3 separate regions of the Homo sapiens genome follow, and all the other regions are linked to region 1. Evidence: promoter capture Hi-C in 16 types of primary human blood cells and fetal thymus (Javierre and others, 2016). All regions are on one chromosome and are shown on one strand. The core of a region is centred on a gene start or on the middle of the fragment in contact, and the rest is flanking DNA. Distances in the headings are between cores, read along the strand shown.

What was found. The method cuts DNA at HindIII sites, captures the fragments that hold promoters and counts their contacts. A CHiCAGO score of 5 or more calls a contact.
Region 2: a fragment that was not itself captured here is called in contact with the fragment with the promoter of WWOX in region 1 in 7 of 17 cell types (non-activated CD4 T cells, naive CD4 T cells, naive CD8 T cells and 4 more); the score reaches 16.9 in non-activated CD4 T cells.
Region 3: a contact is called between a fragment that was not itself captured here and the fragment with the promoter of WWOX in region 1, in 9 of 17 cell types (non-activated CD4 T cells, naive CD8 T cells, activated CD4 T cells and 6 more). The highest score is 22.8, in non-activated CD4 T cells.

The regions. Positions count from the first base shown.
Region 1 is chr16:78,098,404-78,103,094 of GRCh38, reverse strand. WWOX (WW domain containing oxidoreductase) reads right to left here and starts at 3,441. Exons shown (of 9, transcript NM_016373.4): 1 at 3,210-3,441. The coding sequence starts at 3,316. RefSeq lists an enhancer at 2,708-3,207. The HindIII fragment of the contact is 3,217 bases long and covers 2,172-4,691 here.
Region 2 is chr16:81,307,280-81,311,970 of GRCh38, reverse strand. No RefSeq gene overlaps it. Among named protein-coding and RNA genes, the nearest start is that of GAN, 5.3 kb to the left of the region's middle. The HindIII fragment of the contact is 554 bases long and covers 1,553-2,106 here.
Region 3 is chr16:81,098,092-81,102,782 of GRCh38, reverse strand. It overlaps the pseudogene PKD1L2. Among named protein-coding and RNA genes, the nearest start is that of GCSH, 4.0 kb to the right of the region's middle. The HindIII fragment of the contact is 926 bases long and covers 1,646-2,571 here.

The DNA of each region.
Region 1 (4,691 bases), core at 2,192-4,691:
AGGCAGGCGCAGGGGGCACGCAGGAGCAAGGGAGCCCCAGGGCCCTAGCGCCAGGCTCCAGGGCAAGCCTGCAGGGAAGCAGAAGCACCTCTGGGGCTGAGTGGCAAAGGAGGAGACGCCCCACAGAGCCAGAGGCAGAGGTGGGCTTAGGAAGCCGGAAGCGGGTCATGTGCATCTTTGTACTCTGGGGCCCAGTGCACCACCCACCCACCCACAGAAGCCTGCGGCTGACCCTCCCAAGGTGATTCATTTACTCATCCCACAGGGGCTCATCTTATGGCTTCTGGGTGCCAAGCACTGGGGACACTCAGATGAACAAGCTGCCCCATGACATCTGCAACCTGGGCAAGGGAGACAGGGCCAACAAGGAGGAGTACACAGCCAAGGCTAAGCACGAAGAAGCAGAGAAACAAGGTGACTAGTACAAGGTCGAGGGGACACCCACAGTTAAGAAGGTCTCTTGGGCAGTGACATGTAAGCTCAGCTCTGAAGGATGAGAAGGAGCCTTTCCCCAACAGATGTACAGGTGAGAGGAACAGCAAGTGCCCGCTCAGGAGCTTGCCTCCGTCCCTGCAAAGGCTACTGGAGCTCTGCTGCTGGAAATGTCCCTTTAATTCTCCAGAGCCAGAAATTCTTCCAGAATTCACAAGCTGAATGAATGCCACTCTCTGGCTCTGCCAACAGAGCCCAAGCTTCTCGGCAAGGCACAGAAATCCTTGAAATGGGTCCTCCCTTCCCTGCCTTAACCTTCACATTCCTGGACCCTCACAAAGATCACAGGCCCCTGGACAGGCCATGCAGGGGGTCTCTCCTCTCACTGTTCCCTCTACCTAGACTGCCCTCCTGCCCCACCCACCTCTACTTGAGCTCAAAACACCGCTCTGGGCTTGGCACAGTGCCTCAGGCCTGTGATTCCAGTGCTTCGGGAGGGAGGCTGGCTTGAGTTCAGGAGTTCAAACCAGCCTGGGCAACATGGTGAGACCCCATTTCTACAAAACATGTAATAATTAGCTGGGTGTGGAGGCACACACCTGTGGTCCCGGGTACTCAACAGGCTGATGCGGGAGGATCGCTTGAGCCCAGGAAGTGAAGGTTACTGTGAGGGTGCCACCATATTCCCTCACGACCCCCCCAACTACCTACACACACCTCATGCCAGACACACTACTTCCTGGTATACACACTGCGTGGGGACGCTCCTACACATGTCACTGTGCCCTAATAAGATTGGGTCCTAAGGATGACAACTGGCTCTTATTTGCCTCGGTATAACCAGTGCCAGCCAAAGGCCTGTCACATAATACCTGTGTGTGTCTTGAATGAACTCATCAGAACTTGGTTGTTTTTCCTCTACCTTGCCACCAAAGGCAGCAGTGGTTCACATCCTTGCATAGATTAGAATCACCTGGGAGGGAAGATTTTACAACCTACCAAGGGAGAGGGGAGGGGCCAAACCAATTAAATCAGAAATTCTGGGCTGACGCAGTGGCTCCTGTCTGTAATGCCAACACTTTGGGGGGCCGAGGTGGGCGGATCACTTGAGGCCAGGAGTTGGAGACCAGCCGGGCCAACAGCGCGAAATTAGCCAGGCCTGGTGGCGGGCGCCTGTAATCCCAGCTATTCGGGAGGCTGAGACACGAGAATCGCTTGAACTCGGCATGCAGAGGTTGCAGTGAACCGAGATCGCACCACGGCACTCCAGTTTGGGCGACGGAGCGAGACCCTGTCTTTAAAAAAAAAAAAAAAAAGGCCGGGAGCGGTAGCTCACGCCTGTAATCCCAGCACTTTGAGAGGCCGAGGCGGGAGGATCACGAGGTCAGGAGATCGAGACCATCCTGGCTAACACGGTGAAACCCCGTCTCTACTAAAAACACAAAAACTTAGCCGGGCGTGGTGGCGGGCGCCTGTAGTCCCAGCTACTCGGGAGGCTGAGGCAGGAGAATGGCGTGAACCCGGGAGGCGGAGGCTGCAGTGAGCCGAGATCGCGCCGCTGCACTCCAGCCTGGGCGACAGAGCAAGACTCCGTCTCAAAAGAAAAAAAAAAAAGAAAAACCCTCTGGAAGTGGGGCCCAGAAAAAGGCTCTTACAAAAAAAGTTTCCCAGATGCTGAAAATCAGATTTACATCCATGTTTCTCAAAACCAGGTGATATTCCACCTCACCTGGAAAGCTTAAAAAAAGAGACTCCCAAAGTTGAGAGTCGGCTACAGTAGGTTCTCTATGGAGACCCAAAACGTGTATTTAGGACATTTCCTAGGTGATTCTAAGGTGCCGATATAAGAGGCACTGTCGTATCTTAAGAGCAATCAAGGAACGACAGTTAAGGAACAGAGAGTACCTACTAGACACGGTGCTATGTGCTTTACGCACAGTGCCTGAACTGACCCTCGTATCAACCCATTTTACAGGTGAAAAAACCAAGATTAAACGTTATTTCAATGGCCCAAGGTCACACAGTTAAAGATGAAGGCTCTGCTGGGGTTTCCAAAACTTTCCCAGGAAATGATAGTGAAGCTATCTAGGACTGCTACTAAAAAATACTCCTGGCTAGGCGCAGTGGCTCACGCCTGTAATCTCAATTCTGGAGGCTGAGGCAGGTGGCCTGCTTGAGCCCAGTAGTTCGAGACCAGCCTGGGCAACATGGTGCGACCCTAGTCTCTACAAATACTTAAAAAATTAGTCGGGCATAGTAGTGCACGCTTGTAGTCCCAGCCACTCAAGAGGCTGAGATGAGAGGATTGTCTGAACCCAGTAGGTAGAGGCTACAGTGGGCTATGATGGCACCCCTGCACTCCAGCCTGGATGACTGAGCAATACCGGTCTGGACAAAACAAAACAAAACACAACAAAACTCCTATCCCTGCAACCCAGAGCCTGCAGGAGGGAGCTGAGCATGTGCGCTTTTTAAAACATCTTTATTTTTTGGCGGGGATGAGGCCGCTTTGCCCTCGCCGCGCCGCGCAGTGCTGCATCCTGAACAGCAGAGGGCGCGCCGGGAAGCCACCAGGTGACCCCCGCTGGACCCGAGGCCCACCAAGGGGGCCGGCCCCTACTGGGAACCCTGGACCCTTTTCCCTGAAGCTCCTTAACAGTTACTTTCACTTTGCACCGCACGCGCTGCGCTGGAGTGCGCGTCCTCCCCGCGCAGGTGGCGTCCGTGGGCTGTGCAGGGTCCCAGGTGCGTCCGCGGCCCCACTGCGGCCCCCTTACTTGGCGTAGTAAACCCAGCCGTCCTTGGTGGTTCTCTCCTCCCAGCCCGGAGGCAGCTCGTCCTCACTGTCCGTGTCGTCCAGCCCCGCGTAGCGCAGCGCTGCCATGGCTGACTGTGGAGGCACCTGGCCCCCCTATCGCCCGCTGCCGGGTCCACTCGCTCAGGAACTCACTCCCGCTCCAAACGAGACCCGCGCGCGTCGGGGCCCGACCGCTCACGCCTGCGCACTGCGCCCTCCAGGGGCCGCTCCGCCGACCACGAAGCTGAAATCCAGTCTCCGCAATATCGCGACGGCCGGCGTCAAAGGGGCAGGGCCTGGAGAGGAAGGCGGTGAAAGTGCCTAAGAGATCGCGCTGCCGCCGGGCTAGACAGCAAAGCCGGAGAGCGCTCCGAGGCGCTAGAGATAGAGCGGAGCCTTGTCAGCCTCCCCGCCGCAGGGAAGGGGCGTGCGCATCCAGTTTCGGGCCAGGACTCCGCCCGTTGCTGGGCGACCCGTAATCACTTCCGCGTTGTTCTGGCCAATCCTGCAGGAGCCCGGCAATTGGATATGGGAAATGTAGTCCAGGTGGCGCCTGACCAAAAAGCGGCGCCCGACTAAAAAGCGGCGCCCATGCTGTTGTCCTGGGCTTCTGTCTCTCCTTGCCTTGGGGTCTCGTGAAAGTCCGTGATCACAAACCTTCCAGGGCTTGCCAGCATTCGTGCTGATTCACAACCTTTGTTTTGCATATGAACACAATGTTAAAATATAACCTGGAGAACTTAAAACTGCTGATTCCTGATTTCCTGGTTTTAGAGAACTTTCTTTCAGCCAAAACACATAATAGAGACTGTGATAATAGAGACTGTTGTTTAATAGAGACTCATGATAATAGAGACTGATGATAATAGAGACTGATTGATAATAGAGACTGTTGATAATAGAGACTGATGTTTACGGAGCACTTAATGTGCGGTCCAGGCCAGAAATGCACAGACATCACATGTAGCTGACACCTTTGTGTAGTGGGCACAACTCAGACAGGGTAGCTAGGCCGGGCTCAGTGGCTCATGCCTGTAATCCAAACACATTAGGAGGCTGAGGCAGGAGGATCACTTGAGGCCAGGAGTTTGAGAACAGCCTGGGCAACATCGCAAGACCCCTGTCTTTACCAAAAATAATTATTTTTTTAGTTTGCCGGGCGTGGTAGTGCACATCGGTAGTCCCAGCTACTCATTGAGGCTGAAGGGGGAGGATCACTTGAGCCCAAGAAGTCGAGGCTGCAGTGAGCTATGATCGGGCCACTGCACTCCAGCATGGACGACAGAGAGAGCTGCTGTCTTTAAAAAACTGCCTCACCTTTAGAGAATTTCCTTTAGTAAGTCTGGAATAGGTCCAGAATCTGGAAAGAAAGGGAGGGAGGGAGGGAGGGAGGGAGGAAGGAAGGAAGGAAGGAAGGAAGGAAGGAAGGAAGGAAGGAAGGAAGGAAGGAAGGAAAATAAAA
Region 2 (4,691 bases), core at 580-3,079, 3.2 Mb before region 1:
AGCTTAACCATGGCCTTCAGGAAATCTTGAGCTGGCTTCCCAGGACAGAGTGGGTCAGTCCTCTGCATGCTCCTGCTGCTGTGCTGTACTCACCATACTGTACTGTAATTTACTGGTTTGTAAGTCATTTCCACTGCTGGGTTGTGAGCTCCTCCAAGGCAGGGGCTTTGCCTTATCTGCCTATGTTCCCAGGACTTACACAGTGCCTGATGTGTAGTAGGTACCCCATGAATGTTTTACATAATTAGCAGGAGCGTATCAGGTAAATTAGCAAAGCAAACTGTGGGATGTGGGATGTCAGACAATAGGAGTAGGTGGGCTTATGGGAGCTGAAGAGCACATGCTCCTCAGCTCTGATTGATTGCTCTGTGCGATAGGGGCCCAGTGGTGGTGGATCTAACAACTTTTTAAGAGATTCTGACAATTCAGACTTTACATGTTGAATATTCCGGATTTTCAACATTAGCAACTAATTCCATTTGGAGGAAAAAATGTAGCATGGGTCTACAGACAAGATCTGGCTGTAATTCATGTTCAGAGGTAATCAGGAAACGATTAGTTTACTGAAAATGTAGTCGACAATCAAATGGCTGCTAGGTTGCCAATAAAATGTGTTGAGTGGAATTCACATGCCCCAGAAAGCTCCTCCTGGTGCTGTGGGCAAGGAAGAGGGCCCAAGTGTGGGAAGAAGGATTCAGGAGGCAGAGCCAACTCTCCCAGTGCTGCCGGAGCCACTCTTGCTTGAGCTGAAGTACTGTGGACTGTTTTGCAGCCTTCTTGATATTGCTCAAACTGAGCCACCCTTGATATTGTGCCTATCAGAATGATGGATTAAATGTTATTGTTTCCTTATATTCCATAGGCATCAGATATCAACTGTCATTGTGAAACATATTACAATGTAAGAGATTTGATATTGTCCTAACAGCTTTAGTCTCTGGTGGCTTTACTGAGCTCTTCTGGTTTAGAGGTGAAACAACCCAGAGAAAGGATTTATTTATGTATTCGTTTTTGGTCTGAAGACCAAAAAGGATGTTTGCAAGATATTAACAGTAATCATTCATTCAACAACTGTTTTTAAAGCACCTGCTGTACGATACCTGCTACAGATACAGTGATGGTGAAAGTATAGTTGTCTCAGTGTTATTATAGAAGCTTTTACTCTGTATTTTCCTCGATTTCTATTTTCTGTACTGATCATGCATAATTTTTTACAATCATTAAAAAAACAAGAAAGCAATGTCTTTTTGCAAAAAGGGAAAAAAAAGCTTTCTTTTGCTTTGAAAAATGTGCCCTCAAGAGAGGAATCCACTTGGGGGGTTGGGCTTTTATTTCCTAAAAACTACTTAGAGAGTCCAGTAAGAGAAATAATGCAAAGAAAATATTAACAGTTTGAAAATTCTTTAGCAAATATCAAGTCCAACGGATTTATCTTATTGAAGAGAAAACCAAAGTACAGATGAGCAAATGACTCAGTCAAGGTTATAGGTGTGACCCAGTCAGGGCAGAACAGACTAAGGTCTAGATCTTCTGCTTTCCAGCCCTGTAAGCTTTTCCATTACACCAAGTCGACTTGTCATAAACATTCATTTGTTTGAGACAGTCTCTTCTGATTCATTTTAAGGTAGTCTTCAGATATTTTATTGGGTAAATCTTTCATTTGTCCAAATCTATATATAGCTGTTTTCTTTCCAAAAAAAAGTCTAGGCTCTTTCAAATTGCTGAGTCAGAGAACATCTCAGTATTTATAACGCTTCAGAGTTGGTTCTATATATTTACACAGTACTCAGAGAAGTGTCTCAGAAACCGGTGAACTAATTAAATTGTAATGAAACTCCATGAAGGTCGTAACTGTTCCTATCCAAATTCATCATGTATTCTACCCCAGCACCCAGTACAGTGCCTGACACACAGTAGGTGCCCAATAAATATTTGCTGAAGGAATAAATTCTAATAGAATTGAGATTTTTCTGTTTACAAGGGATTACTTCACATGTTATTTTTCATATTTCCCCAATGAACTCAAAACGGAAATATTCACCAGCCTGCTTAACATTGCCATTTGAATAATAGAAACCTAGAATTTAACACCTCAGAAAGTAAGCTTCTACTTAAAAAAAAAAATTAGCTGGGTGTGGTGACACCTACCTTTAGTCCCAGCTACTCGGGAGGCTGAGGTGGGAGGATCACTTGAGCCCAAGAGGTCGAGGCTGCAGGGAGCCGTGATCATGCCACTGCACTCCAGCCTGGGAGACACAGTAAGGCCCCATTTCAAAAAAAAAAAACAAAAAGTCCTGATTTTACCCCTAAACCTACTCATTTTCCAAGTAAATGGCAGCAGCATTCATTTACCTAGAGACAGAAACTTAGGGTCATTCTTGACCTCTGTCTCTCATACCCTTCATCCAATTCTCTAGTGAATCCTGCAGCTCTTCCTGCAGACTACTTTTTTTTTTCTTTTCTTTTCTTTTCTTTTTTCTTTTTTTGAGACAGAGTCTTGCTCTGTCACCCAGGCTGGAGTGTAGTGGCTCACTGCAGCCTCCACCTCTGAGATTCAAGTGATTGTCCTTCCTCAGGCTCCCCAAGTAGCTGGGATTACAGGTGCCCACCACCACACCCAGCTAATTTTTGTATTTTTAGTAGAGACAGCATTTCACCATGTTGGTCAGGCTGGTCTCGAACTCCTGACCTCAGGTGATCCGCTCACCTCAGCCTCCCAAAGTGCTGGGATTACAGGTGTGAGCCACCATGCCCGGCCCTGCAGGCTAACTTCTGAATCCAGCCACTCCTCCCCACCTCCACCAAGACCACGCTGATCCAGGTACCATTCAGCTCTCCTGCAACAGCCTCCTAACTGCTCCCCCTGCTTTCTCTCTTGCCCCCTTATGAATTGTTTCTCCTCCTAAGGTAATCAGATCAAGTCACTTCCCAGTTCAAAGCTCTTCCATGGCTTTCCTTCAAACTTAGGGAAAAAACCCAAAGCCCTTACCATGGTCTAAAAAGCCCTGCGTGATCTGGCTTCCTCCATGGCCTCATTTCCTGCCATTCTCCCCTCAGTGTGCACCAACCAAACTGGCCTTCTTGCTCTTTCTTGAACAAGCCTAGTATATTCCCACCTCAGGGCTTTTGCACTGGCTAATTGCTCAGCCTGGAACTCTCTTTCCTCACATTCTCATAGCTTGCTCTTTCATTCTTAAATCAGAGCTGCAATGTCAGCTCCTCAGAAAGGCCTTGGCTCACACTCCTGCATAAATGCCTCCCCTTAACTGGCTTCATCTTTCTTCACTGCATGTAATCACTACCTAAAATTATATATGTTTATTAGTGTATTATGTGTCTCTTCTGATTATAAGGCTTCATGAGGCCTGGCAAAGATTCTTATTTTATCACTGTATTCCTAGCCTCTAAAGCAATGCCTGGCATATAGTATGTGCTCAATAAATGTTTACTTATTGAATGAATGAATGAATATTTTCCTGGACCTTTTCATCTCTTGCTGCCTAACCTAACATTGCCAACTTGGAGGAAGATGAGTTATCAAAACTGATTCAAAGGACCTGAAATAAACGTTCCAAACCTTAGAAGGTCACAATATAGTAGCTCTGGGCATAGGTTGCCCCAATAACTTCTTTCAAGCTAGGTCCAGTGCAAGAACCTTATTCTCCCCTGTCAAGACACACCACTTTGCACTTTTCACCCTTTAAATTTAGTTTGTATATTTTATGTTGTTTATACACCTGAAAGCATATAAAAGGTGCTTGTCTTCTCCCTAGAATTCTAGCCAGGATACTGCTGGGTGTACAATGAGCTGGATTATTCTGCAGAATTTACATCACATAAGTAATTTGCCTGTGCCTTAGATCTGTTTAAATATCTGTGAAGTCATTTAAATTCATTTAACTCAAGGGATTTCCTAACAACCTCCCTCTTGGTCTGTTCTCCCAGACTTAGAAGTTGCTTCTTCAATTTCTCCCTCTGTAAAACTGGGGCAATCGTAGCAGTTCTTACAGAGTGGTTATGAGGATTAAATGAGACAGCAGTGATGAAGTGCTGACAAGAAGATCCGGCCCGTAGCAGGTGTTCAGTGAATGCTAAGAGCTGTTACATGTATCATTACTATCACCACCATCATTCTTGTTTTCAATGGCATCCTTGCCCAGCTCAGAAATGATTAGCTTCTAGTTGACTTTCAAGTCAATTAGTCTCTTCACCCCCCAGTCAGGGCCCACCAGTGATACCTCCTCCAGTTCTGGTTGACAGTCTCATTGCTTGTTTTTCTCTAATATTAGTGCTGGGTTTTTGGTGAATTTCATCTATTTTCTAACTCCACCTGACATCTTCATTTTCTACTCCAGGGCTTTAAACATCCCATTCTACACCTTTTATTGCATGTTCCTTGCCTTTATTTTTTTTTAATGTTTAAATCCATCCTTGTGTTTTCTGAAATATGTCAGACCTCTTCTTTAACCAGTAAGTTTTGAAACTAATTAATACTTTAATACATTTAGCTTTTAAAAATGTCTTTATTGAGGTATAATACACAGTAAAGTGCACTAATCTTAAGTGCACGGCTGAATGAATGTTTCCATGTGAAATGGAAACATTTCACACGTGTGAAATCCCCAGCCACGTCAAAATATAGAACATTTCCAGCAACCCAGAGGCTCCCTAAGGCCCGTTTCCAATCGGTG
Region 3 (4,691 bases), core at 859-3,358, 3.0 Mb before region 1:
TCTGCCTACCTTGGCCTCCCAAAGTGCTGGGATTACAGGTGTGAGCCACCACTTTCAGCTGTGATTTTTAAAATTATCTGTAGAGATGGGGTCTCACTATGTTGTCCAGGATGGACTCGAACTCCTAGGATCAAGCAATCGTCTCACCTTGGCCTCCCAAAATCCTGGGATTATAAATATAATAAGCCCCTGTGCTCAGCCTGTACATAAGTTCTTAACAGCCTCTGTTGGGGTGGTAGAGAGCATTTTCTGACGAGTTTACTGAACGTGCCTCATTGGTACCTATAGTCTGCCATTCCTGTTTCCTAGAAGTTGTTCTTTCTTTGCTTTAAGTCACTCTTAAATATGTGTATATGGTTGAGAAGTGTGGGAAAGCCAGAGAGAAACATCTATTTATTTTTTCATTCCCAGAACTTCCTCCCATACCAGGCTAGGCCAGGAGGTAAACAGAGCAAGCAGAAGGAATAATAATAAAGAACCACAAGGCCAGGCCCAGAGGCTCACGCCTCTAATCCTAGCACTTTGGGAGGCTGAGGTGGGTGAATCACCTGAGGTCAGGAGTTCGAGACCAGCCCCGCCAACATGGTGAAACCCTGTCTCTACCAAAGATACAAAAATTAGCTGGGCGTGGTGGTGTGTGCCTATAATCCCAGCTACTCGGGAGGCTGAGGCAGGAGAATAGCTGGAATCCAGGAGGCGGAGGCTGCAGTGAGCCGAGATTGAGCCACTGCACTCCAGCCTCGGCGACAGAGCTAGACTCTGTCTCAGAAAAAAAAAGAACGAAAGAAGGAGCCACCACCAACACTCTGACCTAGAGGAAAAGGGGAGACACTCATCTCAGAAGGGGGCCCATGTGCTGTTTAACTTCAGGCTCAGCCGCCCAGCCGAGGCTTACTCTGCGCTGGCTTGGGAATTTGAAATGTGGCAGTGAAAACTCAGTCATCCTCATCAGAGAGGTGGAGGGAGCCCGCTGAGGATAAAGGATGGAGCACACACCCTTGGCATTCCCAGAGGGAGGCCTTTCTGCCCTAAAACAGCTCTCAACAGTGAAGTAACCTAGGTTGAGACCAAACTGGACAATAAAACTGTGATTTCGGCCAGGGATGATGCGATGGCTCAAGCCTGTAATCATCCCAGCACTTTGGGAGGCCGAGGCAGGTGGATCACTAGATGCCAGGAGTTTGATACCTGCCTGGCCAACATGGTAAAACTCTCTCTCTACTAAAAATACAAAAATTAGCTGAGCGTGGTGGCGGGTGCCTGTAATCCCAACTACTCGGGAGGCTGAGGCGGGAGAATCGCTTGAACTCGGGAGGCGGAAGTTGCAGTGAGCCAAGATTGTGCGACTGCACTCCAGCCTGGGCGACACAGTGAGACTCCATCTCAAACAATAAAATAAAATAAAATAAATAAAAATAAAAACTATGACTTCCCCTTAGAAAGAAAAGCCCCCAAAGAAGATGGTTCTATGGGCATTGCCTGGTTCTTTCTCTTGCAGCTGTCGGAGGAAGGGGAGATCGTAGATTTGCTGCTGATGAAAATACTCAGTTTCCTGGGCATTAAGTCTAAGAGAGAGGAGCCTGGAAGCAGCAGGGAGCAGCCTGGGTCTCTGTCCCAGACTCGCCACTCTCGACCAGCACAAGCTTTGCCCAAGGACTAAGCTGTTCGTCCACACGCCACCATCTACCAGTGGGGACGCCCAGGGCCTCGGGCGTACGCTTACCAGCGACTCTATAGTCTCTCTAGGTCATAGCTTTCATGTCCATTGAAGAATTACCAAGCCCAGCAAGTAAAAAAAATTACAATAACAGAGATATATGTAAAATTGCCAATACTATGAGAGCTTCTTTGTTCAAATGTATTTCCTCTTATTATAAATAAAACAAATATTACATGGAGTTTGGAAAATTTCCTGCACAGACTAATTATTTCGTCTTTTTAGTCCGTTGGGGGTTGCTTTTGAATGATTCTAGTTCAGGGCTTCTCAAACTGTCTGAGAGATGCTAATGGATGCTGTATTAGTTTCCCAGAACAATGTATCACAAACGAAGTGGCTTAAAACGACAGAAATGCATTCTGTCCCAGCTCTGGAGCCTGGAAGTGTGCAATCAAGATGTTGGCAGTGGCCGGGCATGGTGGCTCACGCCTGTAATCCCAGCACTTTGGGAGGCCGAGGCGTGCGGATCACTTGAGGCCAGGAGTTCGAGACCAGCCTGGCCAACAGGGTGAAACCCTGTCTCTACTAAAAATACAAAAATTAACCAGGTGTGGTGGCGGGCGCCTGTAGTCCCAGCTACTCAGGAGGCTGAGGCAGGAGAATCCCTTGAACCCGGGAGGCGGAGGTTGCAGTGAGCCTAGGTGGTGCCACTGTACTCCAGCCCGGGCGACAGAGCATGACTCCGTCTCACAAAAAAAAAAAAGAAAAGAAAGAAAAAAGATGTTGGCAGTGCCATGCTCCCTCTGAGGGCTCTAGGGAAGAATCCTTCTTGCCTCTTCCAGCTTTTGGTGTTGGCCAGCCAGCCTTGGTGTCCCTTGGCTTCTAGATGTGTCACTCCCAGATGGGAAGAAGCTTGCTGGGAGCCTGTGTTCCTTCTCCTTTTCTCAGCACACCAGCCATATTGAATTAGGGGCCCACCCTAGTCCAGGGTGACCTCATCTGAACTAATTATAATACATCTGCAGGGATCCTGTTTCCCAATATGGTCACATCTGAAGAACTGGGACTTAGGACTTTGACATACCTCTTTAGGAGCCACAATTCAAACCAGAACAGGTGTCATTCCTCCAAAAATGTTTCTGGGTCAAATAAATATGGGGAATACTGGTTTATAAAAGTTTTTTTGTTTGTTTGTTTGTTTGTTTGAGACAGGGTCTTGCTCTGTTGCCCAGGCTGGAATGCAGTGGCATGATTTCAGCTCACTGAAACCTCTGCCTCCCAAGATCAAATGATTCTTGTGTCTCAGGCTTCCCAGTATCTGGGACTACAGGCACACAAGAGCATGCCTGGGTAATTTTTGTATTTTTTTGTAGAGACGGGGTTTCACCATGTTGGCCAGGCTGGTCTTGAACTCCTGGCCTCAAGTGATCTGCCTACCTAGGCCTCCCACAGTGCTGGGATTACAGGCATGAGCCACCGCACCCAGTCTACTGTATTGTTATAAGAGGAAAATATGTCTATCAGCTCAAAGAGATGAATGGGCCCCTCTCAAAACACCTGGAAGAAATGACCACCTGGAATTTTCCAGAGCTTATACTCAATGGGCAACGAGATGACCTTTAAAATCTCAAACCAGGAGGTTACAAAGATTACTAGGTAGAAAAAGAAAAAAAATTTTGACTGTCTTCAATGCTTTTTACCAAAAGAAAAACACATGTCATATTTTTTGGTGGAAGGGCCTTTTTGTAGCCCATATGTTGATGTTGATGTGTGATCTTTTTCTTCCCATCACATGAGTTAGTGAAGCTGAGAATAAATATGTTAGGGTGTAAGTGGCACGATGCTGCACTGTCTTGTAATGAAACAACAATAGAAAACAACATCTTGACATTAGAGAAGGTAGCCAAGATCTGTAGTGCAGGGTAGACCAGCGTGATCCAGTCAGCATCCCAAACGAAAGCAAGCGGAGCAGAGCTTAAGAGCAATTGCTGGCCAGGCACGGTGGTTCATGCCTGTAATCCCAGCACTTTGGAAGGCCGAGGTGGGTGGATTACAAGGTCAGGAGTTCGAGACCAGCTTGGCCAACATAGTGAAACCCCATCTCTACTAAACATACAAAAATTAGACGGGCGTGGTGGCACGTGGTCCTGTAGTCCCAGCCACTCGGGAGGCTGAAGCAGGAGAATTGCTTGAACCCGGGAGGCAGAGGTTGCAGTGAGCCAAGATCACGCCACTGCGCTCCAGCTTGGGCGACAGAGCTAGACTTCGTCTCGAAAAAAAAAAAGAAAAAAAGAAGAGTTGCTTTCTAATCAGTGTAGAGGCCAAGGTCTACTACTGCCACCTAGGAGCTACTTAAGCCACAAAAACGCCTCCCCGATCCCACTCCTCGGAAGTGCCTTCACCTCTGAGCCTCATCTATGAAATGAGTGTAACACCTGCCAGAAAGAGGTTTGGAGAGGATTAAAAAGATGTGTGCATAGTGCCAGGCACATAGCAAAGGCTCAATAGATGGGAATGATTTGCTCAAAAGAAAGTGGGCATGACGGCCCTTGCAAGCCACTGCACAGATGTGGTGGCAACCCTAAGTTCATAGCAGGGCAGAAGCTCAGTGCAACAACGTATGGGCTCCCCAAACACACACACACTCCATGGTGTGCACCCTATGGTACTGTTTCCGGTGTTTGAACAAGAACAACTCCATTTTGAATATGGGCTGGGTAAAATGAGGCTGAGACTTGGTGGGCTGCATTCCCAGGAGGTTAGGCATTCTTTTTATTTGTATTTTTTTCTGAAGCAGAGTCTCGCTCTGTCACCCAGGCTGGAGTGCAGTGGCGTGATCTCGACTCACTGCAACCTCTGCCTCCCAGGCTCAAGTGATTCTCGTGCCTCAGCCTCCTGAGTAGCTGGGATTACAGGCACCTGCCACCATGCCTGGCTAAACTTTGGATTTGTAGTAGAGACGGGGGTTTCTCCATGTTGGCCAGGTTGGTCTCGAACTCCTGACCTCAAGTGATTCACCTGCCTCACTTAGTCA